Linked DNA regions of Homo sapiens: region 2 is linked to region 1. The links are contacts of gene promoters, found by promoter capture Hi-C in human tissues and cell types (Jung and others, 2019). All regions are on one chromosome and are shown on one strand. Each heading gives the region's core, a stretch centred on a gene start or on the middle of the fragment in contact. The rest is flanking DNA. Distances are from core to core; before and after follow the strand shown.

Region 1 (6,667 bases), core at 2,981-5,480:
TGATTTCGGTATGCCACTTCCCTTTTGTCTATAAATCTTCTTCCACCAAATGACTGTGCTGGAGTCTCTGTGAATCTGCTGTGTTTCTGGGGACTCTCCGATTCATGAATCGTTTATTGCTCAACTAAACTCCTTTAAAGTTTTTCTTTTAACAGAACTAACACAGAAGAATTTCCAGATCATGAACAGACATTTTGTAATACCCAAAGTTGTGTTAACATGAATAGACTCGTCCTTAGATACCTAACCTTGTTTTTAATATGAATAGACTCTCCCTTAGCTGAGAAAACCGGACAAACTCCATTTGGCTCCTTCATTTATAAGACATCAAGGGCTCCTTACCCACTCCCTTTCCTCAAGGACTTTAACTTGTGCAAGCTGACTTTCAACATATCAAAGACTGCAATTAACTGATAAAGCGCTGAGGCAAGTGATGTCTGCAGTTCCCAGCAATTTACTCAGAGATAGTATCATAAAGCCCGCACATTTGTCCGGCAGCTAACGCCCAGAGCCCCCTCACCTATCACTTTGTGGTGAATTTAAAGCCCCTGCACCTGGAACAGTTTGTTTTCCTGTAACCATCTGTCGTTTTAACTTTTTTGTCTGTTTTTTCTTCTGTAAGGTTGCTGCAGCTAGAATCCCCCCTCCCCTCTCTAAACCAAAGTATAAAAGAAAAGCTAGCCCCTTATCCGGGGCCGAGAGAATTTCGTGCGTTAGCCATCTCTCAGTCGCTGGCTAATAAAGGACTCCTGAACTCGTCTCAAAGTGTGGCGTTTCTCTCTAACTCGCTCGGATACGACAGTTTCAACTATGGTAGAAGACTCGAGTAAGGCAATCACAGTCCCCCTAAATTTGACTATTATTTAGGTTAATGGTGAGTTTAGAAGAAATAAGTTAGGACTACACAGAGTGGGCTAAAGTGCAAATAAACACTGGAAGTATTTCCCAGAAAATATAACTTTGAACAGGCTGCTGCACACCCTGCATGTAGAGATAAACTAAGATAAAGGTGTGGAGAGTTATTTAAGGACCTGTGGTTAACTCAGTTCTCAAGATGTTCCAGGTTTCATCCATGAATCAAGGAGCACCTCCCAAAAGCTGTTTGGGACCACACTCTTTGAGCAAGGAGCATACCTTACAATGGAAGCTGTGCTTTGGCAGCAGATGCCCATTTCCACTGCACAACAGGCCGTGCTTTAGTGGAAGATGACTGTTTCCACTGCACAACACTACAAGTGTTTACTGCCAGGCTGGTGTGAAATATGTTCCACCACAGCAAGGAGCATACCTTATGATGGAAGCTGTGCTTTAGCGGCAGATGACCATTTCCACTGCACAACACACTGTGCTTTAGCGGCAGATGACCATTTCCACTACACAACACACTATGCTTTAGCAGCAGATGACCATTTCCACTGCACAACATGCCGTGCTTTAGCGGACGATGACCGTTTCCACTGCACAACACACCGTGCTTTAGCGGCAGATGACCATTTCCACTGCACAACACGCCGTGCTTTAGCGGATGACGACCGTTTCCACTGCACAACATGCCGTGCTTTAGCAGAAGATGACCGTTTCCACTGCACAACACTACAAGTATTTACTGCCAGGCTGGTGTGAAATATGTTCCAGCACATAACCTATGTCACCACCGAAGGTGGTGGTTCAGACTTGGTGCACACAAGCTTTCCTGTCCCACAAGAACACAGCATGCTCTCTTCGCGGGTTCCATTCCAATCACGTAACAACCATGACTGACTTTTTTGTCACTGCATCAGAAAGATCAGAGGAAAATTTGCACTCAACTTAGACAACTCTAAGCTCTTACAACCTGTCTATATCTACAGGTCAGCTTTATCTTATTTATGTATATTTCCTTCAACCTGAGTTTTACTTATTTCCACTTTTCTTTTTTAATTCACAGACACCCATAAACTCAGAAAATACAGTGTAAAACAAAGTGAAGAACAAATAAACAACTCACCAGAGATTTATTCTTTTCTTGTAGCTCTTGGAAACAGCCAGAGAACACTGGAAACATAGCTGAGAGAGAAGGCAAATGACGTGAATTAAGGAGAGAACTGGTGTGGTGTGGTCCCAGATTCTTCTGCCCAACACTCTAGACACATTACCTGGAAAAGCCCTCCTCCCTCCTGAAAAAGAAAAACTTCCCCATGGGAGAAGAGTCCTTCAAGCCTCATTAGGGGCAGCAAAGACTCAAGATAAGATACATCTACAAGTACATTAATTGGTAGACATTAGATGCACAATTTATTTTGAATAAAAATATGTATTACCTACTAATTTAGCAACAATATTACCTAAAGATACAATCTAATAATTTAATACAAAGAAACATTATAAGTTCACTAAAATAAATGTTATAGAAATATACTGGGCTGTATTAACTATTTTCCTATTAATATGTGGATTCCACAAATAACTTCATATGAGTGTTCCCATGACAGTACATCTTGCTTTTCTATACCTGAACATCATGGAAAGTGCATCTTGCAACCCAGCAATTTTGGCCTACAATTACTTTTTTTTAAATGTACATAATATGTATTTCCTGCAGTACACCATTCTACTCATGTTTCCCAATAACACCTTTCCCTGTATCCAAGCCCTCATATTATGCTCTGACAATAAATTGGGCTTTTCCATCTGACTTGTCCAGTGAATGGACAATGGAAAATGTGATGCAAATATCCATTGGTTCTTGCCTTTTTGGACACAGTCATATTGTGAGGAGGTCTGGAGCTACCCTGGTGGAGACACAGGGCCTAGCCAAGAGTCACCACAAACCGCCAGATTGTGAAGGAAACTATCTTAAACCAACCAGGCTCAGTCAACCCACCATGTGACCAAGGCCTCTTTTGTGATCCAGGCAACATAAATATATCAACTACCCAGCTGAACCCACCACACCAAAATGCAGATCCACAGAACTTCAAACAAATAAAATGGTGGTTGTTTTTTATAAGCCAGTAAGGTTTAATTAGTTCCTTAAACAGCAAGTATTAACTGTTACACCTAAGTGAACAGAATTCAATATGTTTTTAACAAAATTACGTAGGGGGAGAAAGTCTTAAATTACAAATCAAATACAATCGATAGAACTTCACAATCTAATGCTAAAGCTAAATTTGGTGATGGACTAGGTTTAATATATCTCAAACGCTGGAAACAACGAGGAAAGGTTGAAGGAATGGGACTGTGTTTGGAGAGTATTTTAATCTTCTCAGGTATGACAGGTCACTCCTGTACCCCAGACCACACTTTCAGGCCCCTTCAAATAAGGAATATTTCCTAGGTCCTTGCCTGTTCTTCTCAGCCGAATTCACCTCAACCTTCTGAAAGTTCGTCCAAACCTACCACTGTCACCTAGTCTTTGCAAATCTTGTGCATTCTAGGGAGTAGAATTAATATTTCCCGAGCGAGGAAAACTGGGATCTTCACCTGTGACCTTTTATCCTCCTCTGAAGCACCAGTGGGAGGTTAGACCAGAGGGCTGTTCTTTCAAGTGCGCTTCTTATTCATAGGGAACCCTCCCTTTCAAACCTTATAACACACGGTTAAGACTGAAGTACCCTTAAGGCTGAAGACCATCATCCAGTACCCCATCTCCCTCGCGGCATCAGTGAGTTCTTCCCTGGAAACTAGGTCTCGTATAAACTTCTGTAAACGCAACCCAGGAGGACTAGGCAGGTCACACAGTGAAGGAGGGAACCAGAAACTTCACTTGCTAAAGAGACACCGGGAAACCCAACTAATACAAACGCCCAGTTTAAGACTCGAGGCGCACGCGTTTCGCACTACTCCTCTGGGAATGGGGAACGTCTCCCGAGAACTGTGTGTTCGCACTGGGACAGATGGGCAAACTGAGCGTCATGCGGGTTGGTAACCGGCTCCCTCAGCGGCAGGACAGGAGCGCGGCCTGCAGACTCCGGGCCCAGGGCCACCGGCCTCGCCTACCCGCTCCTGCGCCTCTAGAACCCGCTTCACTGCCGGGACCCCACGCCTGTCCTCCCAGCCCCCGCCAGGGTCCGCGGCCTGCACCTGCACTTCAGGCCCTGCCCGCCCGCGATGCGCCCACGCGTCTGCTCCCACAACTGGGGAACACTGGTCCGGCCCCCCGGGATCCCCCGGGCCCACGGGTTCCTCTTCGCCCTCGCACCGACCCGCAGGGACATAGAACCAAGCCCCAGGCTGGCCCAGCTACAAGACCGCCTCTGGGTGCCGCACTTCCGGAGGAAAATGGCGGAGTGGGCGGGGCGGCGCATGCGCAGAGAGAAAAGCTGGTTCCCAAGGTCCTTGATGGTAACATCATTGGAAGGTGACACTACATTTCCCATGAGGCTCTGCGGTCCCCGGTTAGGAACCCAAGCCGGACATTCTGTTTTGCCCAGCAGTGAGTCCAGTTACCCAGAGACCCGGACTTAATGGATCAGGACTGGTCCCTACCCAGGTGACACAGATGTGGCATTCTGGTTCTTTATTAAATCCTGGTTTCACAGCCTGGCACATTGTGAAAATAATGGAGAAATTTCAATAGAGGCCAATTGGTCTATGCTATTAATGAGTAACTTTTTTTTTTTTTTTTTTTTTGAGACGGAGTCTCACTCTGTCACCCAGGCTGGAGAGCAATGGTGCGATCTCGGCTCACTGCAACCTCCGCTTCCCGGGTTCAAGCGATTCTCCTGCCTCAGCCTCCTGAGTAGCTGGGATTACAGGTGCGCGCCACCACACTCACCTAATTTTTGTATTTTTAGTAGAGACGGGGTTTCACCATGTTGGTCAGGCTGGTCTCGAACTCTTGACCTCGTGATCCGCCCTCCTCGGCCTCCCAAAGTGCTGGGATTACAGGCGTGAGCCACTGCGCCCAGCCCTCAAGTCTATTTTTTATAAATGCATTCGAAAGCATGAAAAAAATCATGTCTCTATTTTACTTTAAAATTTTAAAAACACAACTAATGAATATGGTAATTCTCTTCCAATCCGTTATCTTTTCTCTCACTAAACTAATTTATAAGCCTTCAATTTACACAGTTACAAAAAATGCTCTAGTGCATATACTGGGATAAAATAACAGGGTCATAAGACAGGTGCACTCCATAATCTTTGTGACAACTTACACTTCCAGTGTCTGATAAATATTTGCCCATAAACTCCCACGTTTCATCCATCCACCAATCAATCAAATCTAGCTATCTTTATTTATTTATTGTGAGAAAGACCTGAACTTTGCCTTTCCTTCCCTGATTTCTGCCACAAACTAGGCAAGGATTTCTGCCTAGGGGTTTCTCAGAGCTCCGGCCACCACCGAGGTTCCTAACAGGGAAACGCAAGCTTGAATGCTCAGGGTTGATGTGGGAGTGCGTGTGAAACGGGGTTGGGGTGAAAGGGCAGTGAAGTTTGTAGGTGGGCAGATGAGGGTGTGAAGGGCTTTCAGGTAAGAGGCACGCAGGAGACTGGGAGAGGCAGCGAAAGCACCTCACGCCTCAGATCACCAGAAGACGCTTCCACCAGTGCCGTGACAGTTTGCCAATGCCACGGCAGCACGGGAAGTCCCCACCCCTTGCCATGGAAACAGCTGGAAGTTACTGCCCATTTCTAGCTATTTCTGAATAACCCGCCCCTTAATTAGCATGCCATTAAAAGTGAATTATAAAAATGACTGCAAGCCACCCCCAGGCTGCTACTCTGGGAGCACAACCCACGGAGGGCTCCCTGCCCTGCAGGAGTGGACGCAGGGCTGTAACACCGCCAGTGCCTCCGTAGAGCTGCTTTCTTCCACCACAGGCTTGCTTTTGGATTCCTTCCTGAGCGACGCCAAGAACCTGCCCTTCCTCAGTGTGACTCTTGCCTAAAACCTATCCCTGGTTTTCTCTTTTCCTAAGCATGCCCTGACTTGTTCTTTCATCTCCTCGGATCTTGCAATTGCTCCTCAGTGACTCTATTCTGCAGATCCAGAAAACTCAACCTTAATCTTCCCAGAGCCCTGTTGTCTCCAATATCGGAATCTCTAGCCTTGCTTTCTCAGACGCCTAGATTACAGGCCTCTCTCTTGAACACCTATTGGTATGGTATCTGGGGATCCTTTAAATACACGATGATTGGCAGGGGTTACATAGCGGAAATCAGTGCCTGACAATTTGCCTTCCAGGATATGGACTGTCATTCCCTCTCTTGGTGGGCCTCAGTCTCTTATCCATAAAAGTAGAGATTGTAATACTCATTTGAATTGCAGATACCTCAACCTGAACCCACCTAATATAACGTAAAAGCCAAGACTGCAACCCCTTTCCTCACCACGTGAAGGTGAAGTCCTCAGAGCCAAGGAGAGAAGGCTCAGGGATGATACCTGGGTGTCTCCGACGCTAACCATGTATTGCAGTTTTTAGTGTTCAAGTTTAAGCTTCCCCAGCTTTAATTCTATTGTAACAAGATTTATTTTTGTAATTCCATTTTTGGATTCTTGATTTCTTGGTAAAGAAATACAGTTATTTTTGTATATCAATCTTATATAGTGTTACATTCTTAAATTTGTTCATGAGTCCTAATACTTTTTAGTAAATTTCTTACGATTTTCTAAATGCAAGATCATGTCATCTGTACATAAAGATAACTGTACTTCTTCCTTTCCAATCTAGATGCCGTT
Region 2 (6,667 bases), core at 2,236-4,735, 53 kb before region 1:
CTTGCACTCATTGTCTCTCCTGCCACCCTGTGAAGAGGTGCTCTCTGCCATTATTGTAAGTTTCCTGAGGCCTCCCCAGCCATGCAGAGCTGTGAGTCAATTAAACCTCTTTCCTTTATAAATGACCCAGTCTTGAGTATTTCTTCAGAGCAGTATGAGAACAGACTGATACAGTCATTCATGCCTTTGTCTCAGTGAATCTCATTTATACATAACATAGACAAACAGGGAGGGGGAACAATCAGATATGCATTTGTGTCAGGTGGGCAGAGGGGTGAGAACAGACTGCTACAGTCATCCATGCCTTTCTCTCAGTGAATCTGCATTTATACATAACATAGACAAACAGGGAGGGTGAACAATCAGATATGCATTTGTGTCAGGTGGGCAGAGGGGTGAGAACAGACTGCTACAGTCATCCATGCCTTTGGCTCAGTGAATCTCATTTATACATAACATAGACAAACAGGGAGGGTGAACAATCAGATATGCATTTGTGTCAGGTAGGCAGAGGGGTGAGAACAGACTGATACAGTCATCCATGCCTTTGGCTCAGTGAATCTGCATTTATACATAGCATAGACAAAGAGGGAGGGGAACAATCAGATATGCATTTGTGTCAGGTGGGCAGAAGGGTGACTCTGAGTTCTGTCCTATGCACTGTAAAGAAGAGCTATCAGACCAGGTGTGGCAGCTCACATCTGTAATCCCAGCACTCTAAGAGGCTGAGGTGGGTGGATCACCTGAGGTCAGGAGTTCGAGACCAGCCTGACCAACATGGAGAATCCCCATCTCTACTAAAAATACAAAATTAGCCAAGTGTGGTGGTGCATGCCTGTAATCCCAACTACTCAGGAGGCTGAGGCAGGAGAATCATTTGAACCCGGGAGGCGGAGGTTGCGGTGAGCCGAGATTGTGCCATTGCACTCCAGCCTGGGTGACAATAGCGAAACTCCATATCAAAAAAAAAAAAAAAAAAAAAAGGATAAGCTATCAATTTACATTGCTATGATGAATTTTAACAGAAACACTTTAAAGATCTTAAAGCACACCAGAAATTTCCTTGTGGGAAAAATATGATGGAGGGGGCTACAAGACAAAAAGCTTTTTATCTTGGAGCCATCTTATTTAGGAACCAAAAGAAGGAGGCAGGTTTGCATGACCGAGTTCCCAGCTTGACTTTTCCCTTTAGTTTAATGAGTTTGGAGTCCCAAGCTTTATTTTCCTTTCACACTTAGAAGACCAAATACAATGTGGATGTAAATAGTTGTGTTGTTTAGGAAATAATGACAAGAAAAAGTCTGAATATGTTCACTACAGATGCAAGCATCTGATTTTATTTCAAATATTTTGCATCCAAGTTTGCTTACATACACAGATATTAAACCTACAGATACAAAAAGCTGAGTGTACTTACAAATTAATAACTGTACACAGGCAGCATAAAATTCTCTTTGTACATGACAAAAACATTCCGTGTCCACCCAGGGTGAACACAGCCACTTCACAAACAGGGTGTAAATAAGGAGGTTCACTAAGTACAGGAAAGTTACAAGACCATATTGGCATTTTAACAGCCATTCCTGAGAAAGAGAATGGGAAAGGGCTTAAGAGTCAGAGGAGAGGAAAAGAGGAAAACAGATGACCTCCTACATCAGGAGATGGAGCAGTGAGAATACAGAATAGGGAAGCAATAGTTAAAAAAAAAAAAAGTAGAAACAGGATTTGATGTCAATTTGCTGTGCAAAGGGTAAAAAGGGGAGTTTTATTTCCAGGCTATCTGCCATGATCACAGCTAGTTTGTTACTGGTGATGTGAAATTTGGAAAAATAAAAGAACAATATGATGGCCAGAAGTGATACAGACTTGGACACATCATGTTTGAAATATCTGAGGTCCCATACGTAGGGATGTCCAATTGACAATTGGGAATACAGTTCCAGAGTTCACAAGAGAGATCAAACCTGGAGATAAAAGATTTTGAAACTATCAGAATTTCAATGGTACCTGAATCCATCAGACCAAATGAACCTAAGAGAATGAAAGGATAACAAGGAACAAGTACAGAATCCACAGAAATACTAATATTTACAAACAGAAATAGACTGTTAAAACCAAGAAGGAACTTTCTGAGTTTATTTCACAAATTAAGAAAAGCTCAATATTAGAAAGTCTACTAATACAATTCATCATATTCAGAGTCCTGAGGAGAAAAATCCTTTAATTGTCCACATAGGCATTAAGAAGATAAGTCTTAGAAACAGATTCCAGGTTCTGATTTCTGCATGTAAGAAGCTTAGAAGTAGCCAGGTGCAGTGGCTCATGCCTGTAATCCCAGCACTTTGGGAGACCGAGGTGGGCAGATCACCTGAAGTCAGAAGTTCAAGACCAACCTGGTCAACATGGCAAAACCCTGTCTCTACTAAAAATACAAAAATTAGGCTGGGCATGGAGGCTCACACCTGTAACCCCAGCACTTCGGGAGCTTGAGGTGGGTGGATCACATGAAGTCAGGAGTTTCAGACCAACCTGGCCCACATGGCAAAACCCCATCTCTACTAAAAATACAAATATTAGCGAAGTGTGGTGGTGTGTGCCAGTAGTACCAGCTACTTGGGAGGCTGAAGCAGAAGAATTGCTTGAACCTGGGAGGTGGAGGTTGCAGTGAGCCAAGATCATGCCACTGCACTACAGCCTGGATGACAGAGTGAGCTCTGCCTCAAAAAATTAAAAAATAAAATAATAATAATACAAAAATTAGCCAGCATGGTGGTGGGTGCCTGTAATCTCAGCTACTCAGGAGGTTGAGGCAGGGAGAATCACTTGAACCTGGGAGCCAGATGTTAAGGTGAGCTGAGATTGCACCACTGCACTCCAGCCTGAGCAACAAAGTGAGAGTCCATCTCAAAAAAAGGAAGAAAAAAAAAAAGAATGGAAGTAATCAGTCCACCTTAACAACACATGAAAAGCTGAAAAGGTCAGGTGTGGTGGCTCATGCCTGTAATCCCAGCACTTTGGGAGGCCAAAGCAGGAGGATCCCTTGAGTCCAGGAGTTTGAGACCAGCCTGTGCAACATAGTGAGACCCCCAACTCTAAAAAAAAAATTTAAATAAAACAAAAGCTGAAGAGACTGAAAAATCAACAATCCTTTTTGGATTTGAATGTGAAGAGAGGACATAGGGCAAACCACTGCCCCCAAGATTGGAGAGATAGAGAAGTGAATATGGGAATTTATGGCTTACAGGAACAGAGACTCACTACTGAAACCACCTTAGGAACCAGTGCTGGAGTAGAAAATCTTGAACTATAACTGGTGAATTGCTGAAGGTTCCATATGGACAACTCAAGGAGGTAAAAACACCAGGGAGATCCAGTTATGAGGGAGCATAATATTGTAAAATTTACCTCCTGGAGCTCCACCAGGCTCCTGTGGCAAATACCTGAGAAAACTTGCTTCTTGCTTCCACCTTTGGGAAGGAAAAAGGAAAACCATCTTAAAATATGCCAGAGCAACCTGTTCTTAACAAGGCTTATCCTCAGGAGAAATTACTGAACCTCAGCCTAACCTGCTCTCATATAACCAGATCCTAAATGACCTGCTGGAAGGGAAATTCCCAACTCCAGCCTACTCCAGTCATCCCTAAAGGGGAAGATAAAAACAGAGAAACACATGTGAAGTTCATAGTCCAAAAGCAGAGACTCACTTAAACAATGAGGCCCAGTCGTAAGACTCCAGAACTCTTCTGCTACAGTCTGAATATCTGTTCCCTGCTGGACCCCCTGCAAAATGTGCCTGTTGAAACCGAGTCTCCAATGCACTAGAATTAAGGGGTGGGACCTTTGAAAGGTAATGGCAAAGCCAACCTGATTGGGATTAGTGCACTTATGAAACAGGCCAAATGAAGCTTCTTTGTCCATTTCAACATGAGAGGACATATAGCTGGCACCATCTACGAGGAATGGGTCTCATCAAACACTGAATCTCCTGGAACCTTGACCTTGGATTTTCTAGCCTCTAAATTGAGCAATAAATTTCTGTTGTTTACAAATTACTTGCTCTAAGTTATGCTGGTGGATGGACTAAGACAGCTTCCCCTCCCCTCCACAGCTTCCCATCATTACTGGATGCACTGTTACAGTAGTTCCTTTTACCTGGTATCTCATATCTAGGAATAAAGAAAAAGCACAAGGCATACTAAAAGGCAAAAAACACAATTTGAAGTGACAGATCATCAGAACCAGACACACCTATGATATTGGAATTATCAGACAGGGATTTTAAAAAAAAATCTCTGAGTAGTATGCTAAGGGCTCTGATGAACAAAGGAGACAGCATTCAAGAACAGATAGGCAATGTAAGCAGAGAGATAGAAGTCCAAGGAAAGAACAAAAGAGAAACAGTAGAGATAAAAAAAATACTGCAAAAGACCTGAAGAATGTCTTTGATTGGCTTATTAGTAGATTGAACACAACAAAGGAAAGAGTCTCTGAGTTCTGGAAACTTTGAAAGAAACTTTAAAAACTGAAAAGAATGGAATGTAATATCCAAGAACTGTGGGACAGCTAGAAAAGGTGTAACATAGAGTGATGAGAATACTAGAAGGAAAAAGAGAGAAATAGAAGAAACATCTGCAACAATCATGTCTGACAACTTCCACTGTTAATGTCAGACACCAAACCAAAGATCCAAGAAGCTCAGAGCACACCAGGCAGGATACATGCCAAAAACCTACACCTAGGCATATTATTCTCCAACTGTATAAAACATCAGCTCCAAAAGAAACCAAAGGTGGAGTGGACAACATCTTACCTATAGAGAAACAAAGATAAGAATCACATTCAGGTTGAGCTCGGTGGCTCATGCCTGTAATCCCAGTACTTTGGGAGGCCAAGGTGGGTGGATCATGAGGTCAGGAGATCGAGACCACTCTGGCTAACACGGTGAAACCCCATCTCCACGAAAAAATACAAAAAATTAGCCAGGCGTAGGGGTGGGAGCTCATAGTCCTAGCTACTCGGGAGGCTGAGGCAGGAGAATGGTATGAACCCGGGAGGCAGAGCTTGCAGTGAGCTGAGATCACACCACTGCACTCCAGCCTGGGTGACAGAGCAAGACTCTATCTCAAAAAAAAAAAAAAAAAAAAAATTACATTCAACATCTCAGAACCATGAAAGTAAAAAGAGAGTGGAATGACATATTAAACATGCTGAGAGGAAAAAAAAAAAACCATCAACTAAGATTTCAGTGCCCTGTGAGATCTTCTTTCAAAAGTAAATGAGAAATAAAACATTCCCTGGACAAACAAAAGTTGAGGAAACTTGTTACCAGCAGATGTGTCATGTGAGAAAATATTAAACATTATCTAGAGGAAAAAAAAAGATACACATCTGAAAACTGAACCTACATTTTATTTATTTTTATTTATTTATTTTGAGACAGAGTCTCTCTCTGTTGCCCAGGCTGGAGTGCAGTGGCACATTCTCGGCTCACTGCAACCTCTGCCTCCCAGGTTCAAGCAATTCTCTGCCTCAGCCTCCCAAGTAGCTGGGATTACAGGAGCCCTCCACCACGCCTGGCTAATTTTTTTGTATTTTTATTAGAGACAGTGTTTCACCATCTTTGCCAGGCTGGTCTTGAATTCCTAACCTCATGATCCACCCATCTCGGCCTCCCAAAGTGCTGGGATTACAGGTGTGAGCCACCACACCTGGCTTGAATCTACATTTTAAAAAGAACATTAGAGAAGGAATAAGTGGTGGTAAAATGGGTTTTTTTTGTTTTTTTGTTTTTTTTGTGAGATGGAGTCTCACTCTGTCACCCAGGCTGGAGTGCAGTAGCGTGATCTCAGCTCACGGCAAGCTCTGCCTTCCAGGTTCATGCCATTCTCCTGCCTCAGCCTCCCGAGTAGCTGGGACAACAGACACCCACCACCACACCCGGCTAATTTTGTTTTTGTATTTTTAGTAGAGATGGGATTTCACCATTTAGCTAGGATGGTCTCAATCTCCTGACCTCATGATCTGCCCACCTCGGCCTCCCAAAGTCCTGGGATTACAGGCATAAGCCACCGTACCTGGCTGCTTTTTATTCTTAATTGACCTAACATATAACAGTTTGTATATAATAACAATGTATGCAATTATATATATATATATATATATATTTTTTTTTTTTTTTTTTTTTTTTTGAGAGAGTCTTGCTCTGTCACCCAGGCTGGAGTGCAGTGGTGCAATCTCAGCTCACTGCAACCTCCACCTCCTCCCTGGTTCAAGCAATTCTCCTGTCCAAGCCTCCCGAGTAGCTGGGACTACAGGCGTGTGCCACCACGTCCAGCTAATTTTTTGTATTTTTAGTAAAGATGGGGTTTCACCATGTTAGCAAGGAGGGTCTCCATCTCCTGACCTCATGATCCACCTGTCTCAGCCTCCCAAAGTGTTGGGATTACAGGCTTGAGCCAAGGCACCCAGCCAATTACATACTTTAATATATACAAGGCTATGTATGCTTACATATAAGTGAAACAAATGGCAACAATAACACAAGACATAGGAATATGAGAGAAACTGGTATTACATTTCTATTAGAAGGCAGTCGAAGTAACTGAACTGGTATAGTGTTATTTGAAGGTGGACTTGGATTTGTTGCAAGTCTATACTGCAAACTCCA

The links. Contacts are between HindIII fragments. The study calls those that stand out against the background at their distance.
Region 2: a contact is called between a fragment that was not itself captured here and the fragment with the promoter of ZNF717 in region 1, in 2 of the 25 tissues and cell types used here (mesendoderm cells and thymus).

What each region holds. Positions count from the first base shown.
Region 1 is chr3:75,781,319-75,787,985 of GRCh38, forward strand. ZNF717 (zinc finger protein 717) reads right to left here and starts at 4,231. Exons shown (of 5, transcript NM_001290208.3): 1 at 4,066-4,231; 2 at 1,988-2,046. The coding sequence starts at 2,044. RefSeq lists an enhancer at 4,344-4,493. The HindIII fragment of the contact is 7,615 bases long and covers 1-5,889 here.
Region 2 is chr3:75,728,655-75,735,321 of GRCh38, forward strand. It overlaps a transcript of ZNF717 not described here. Among named protein-coding and RNA genes, the nearest start is that of MIR4273, 6.3 kb to the right of the region's middle. The HindIII fragment of the contact is 4,652 bases long and covers 1,160-5,811 here.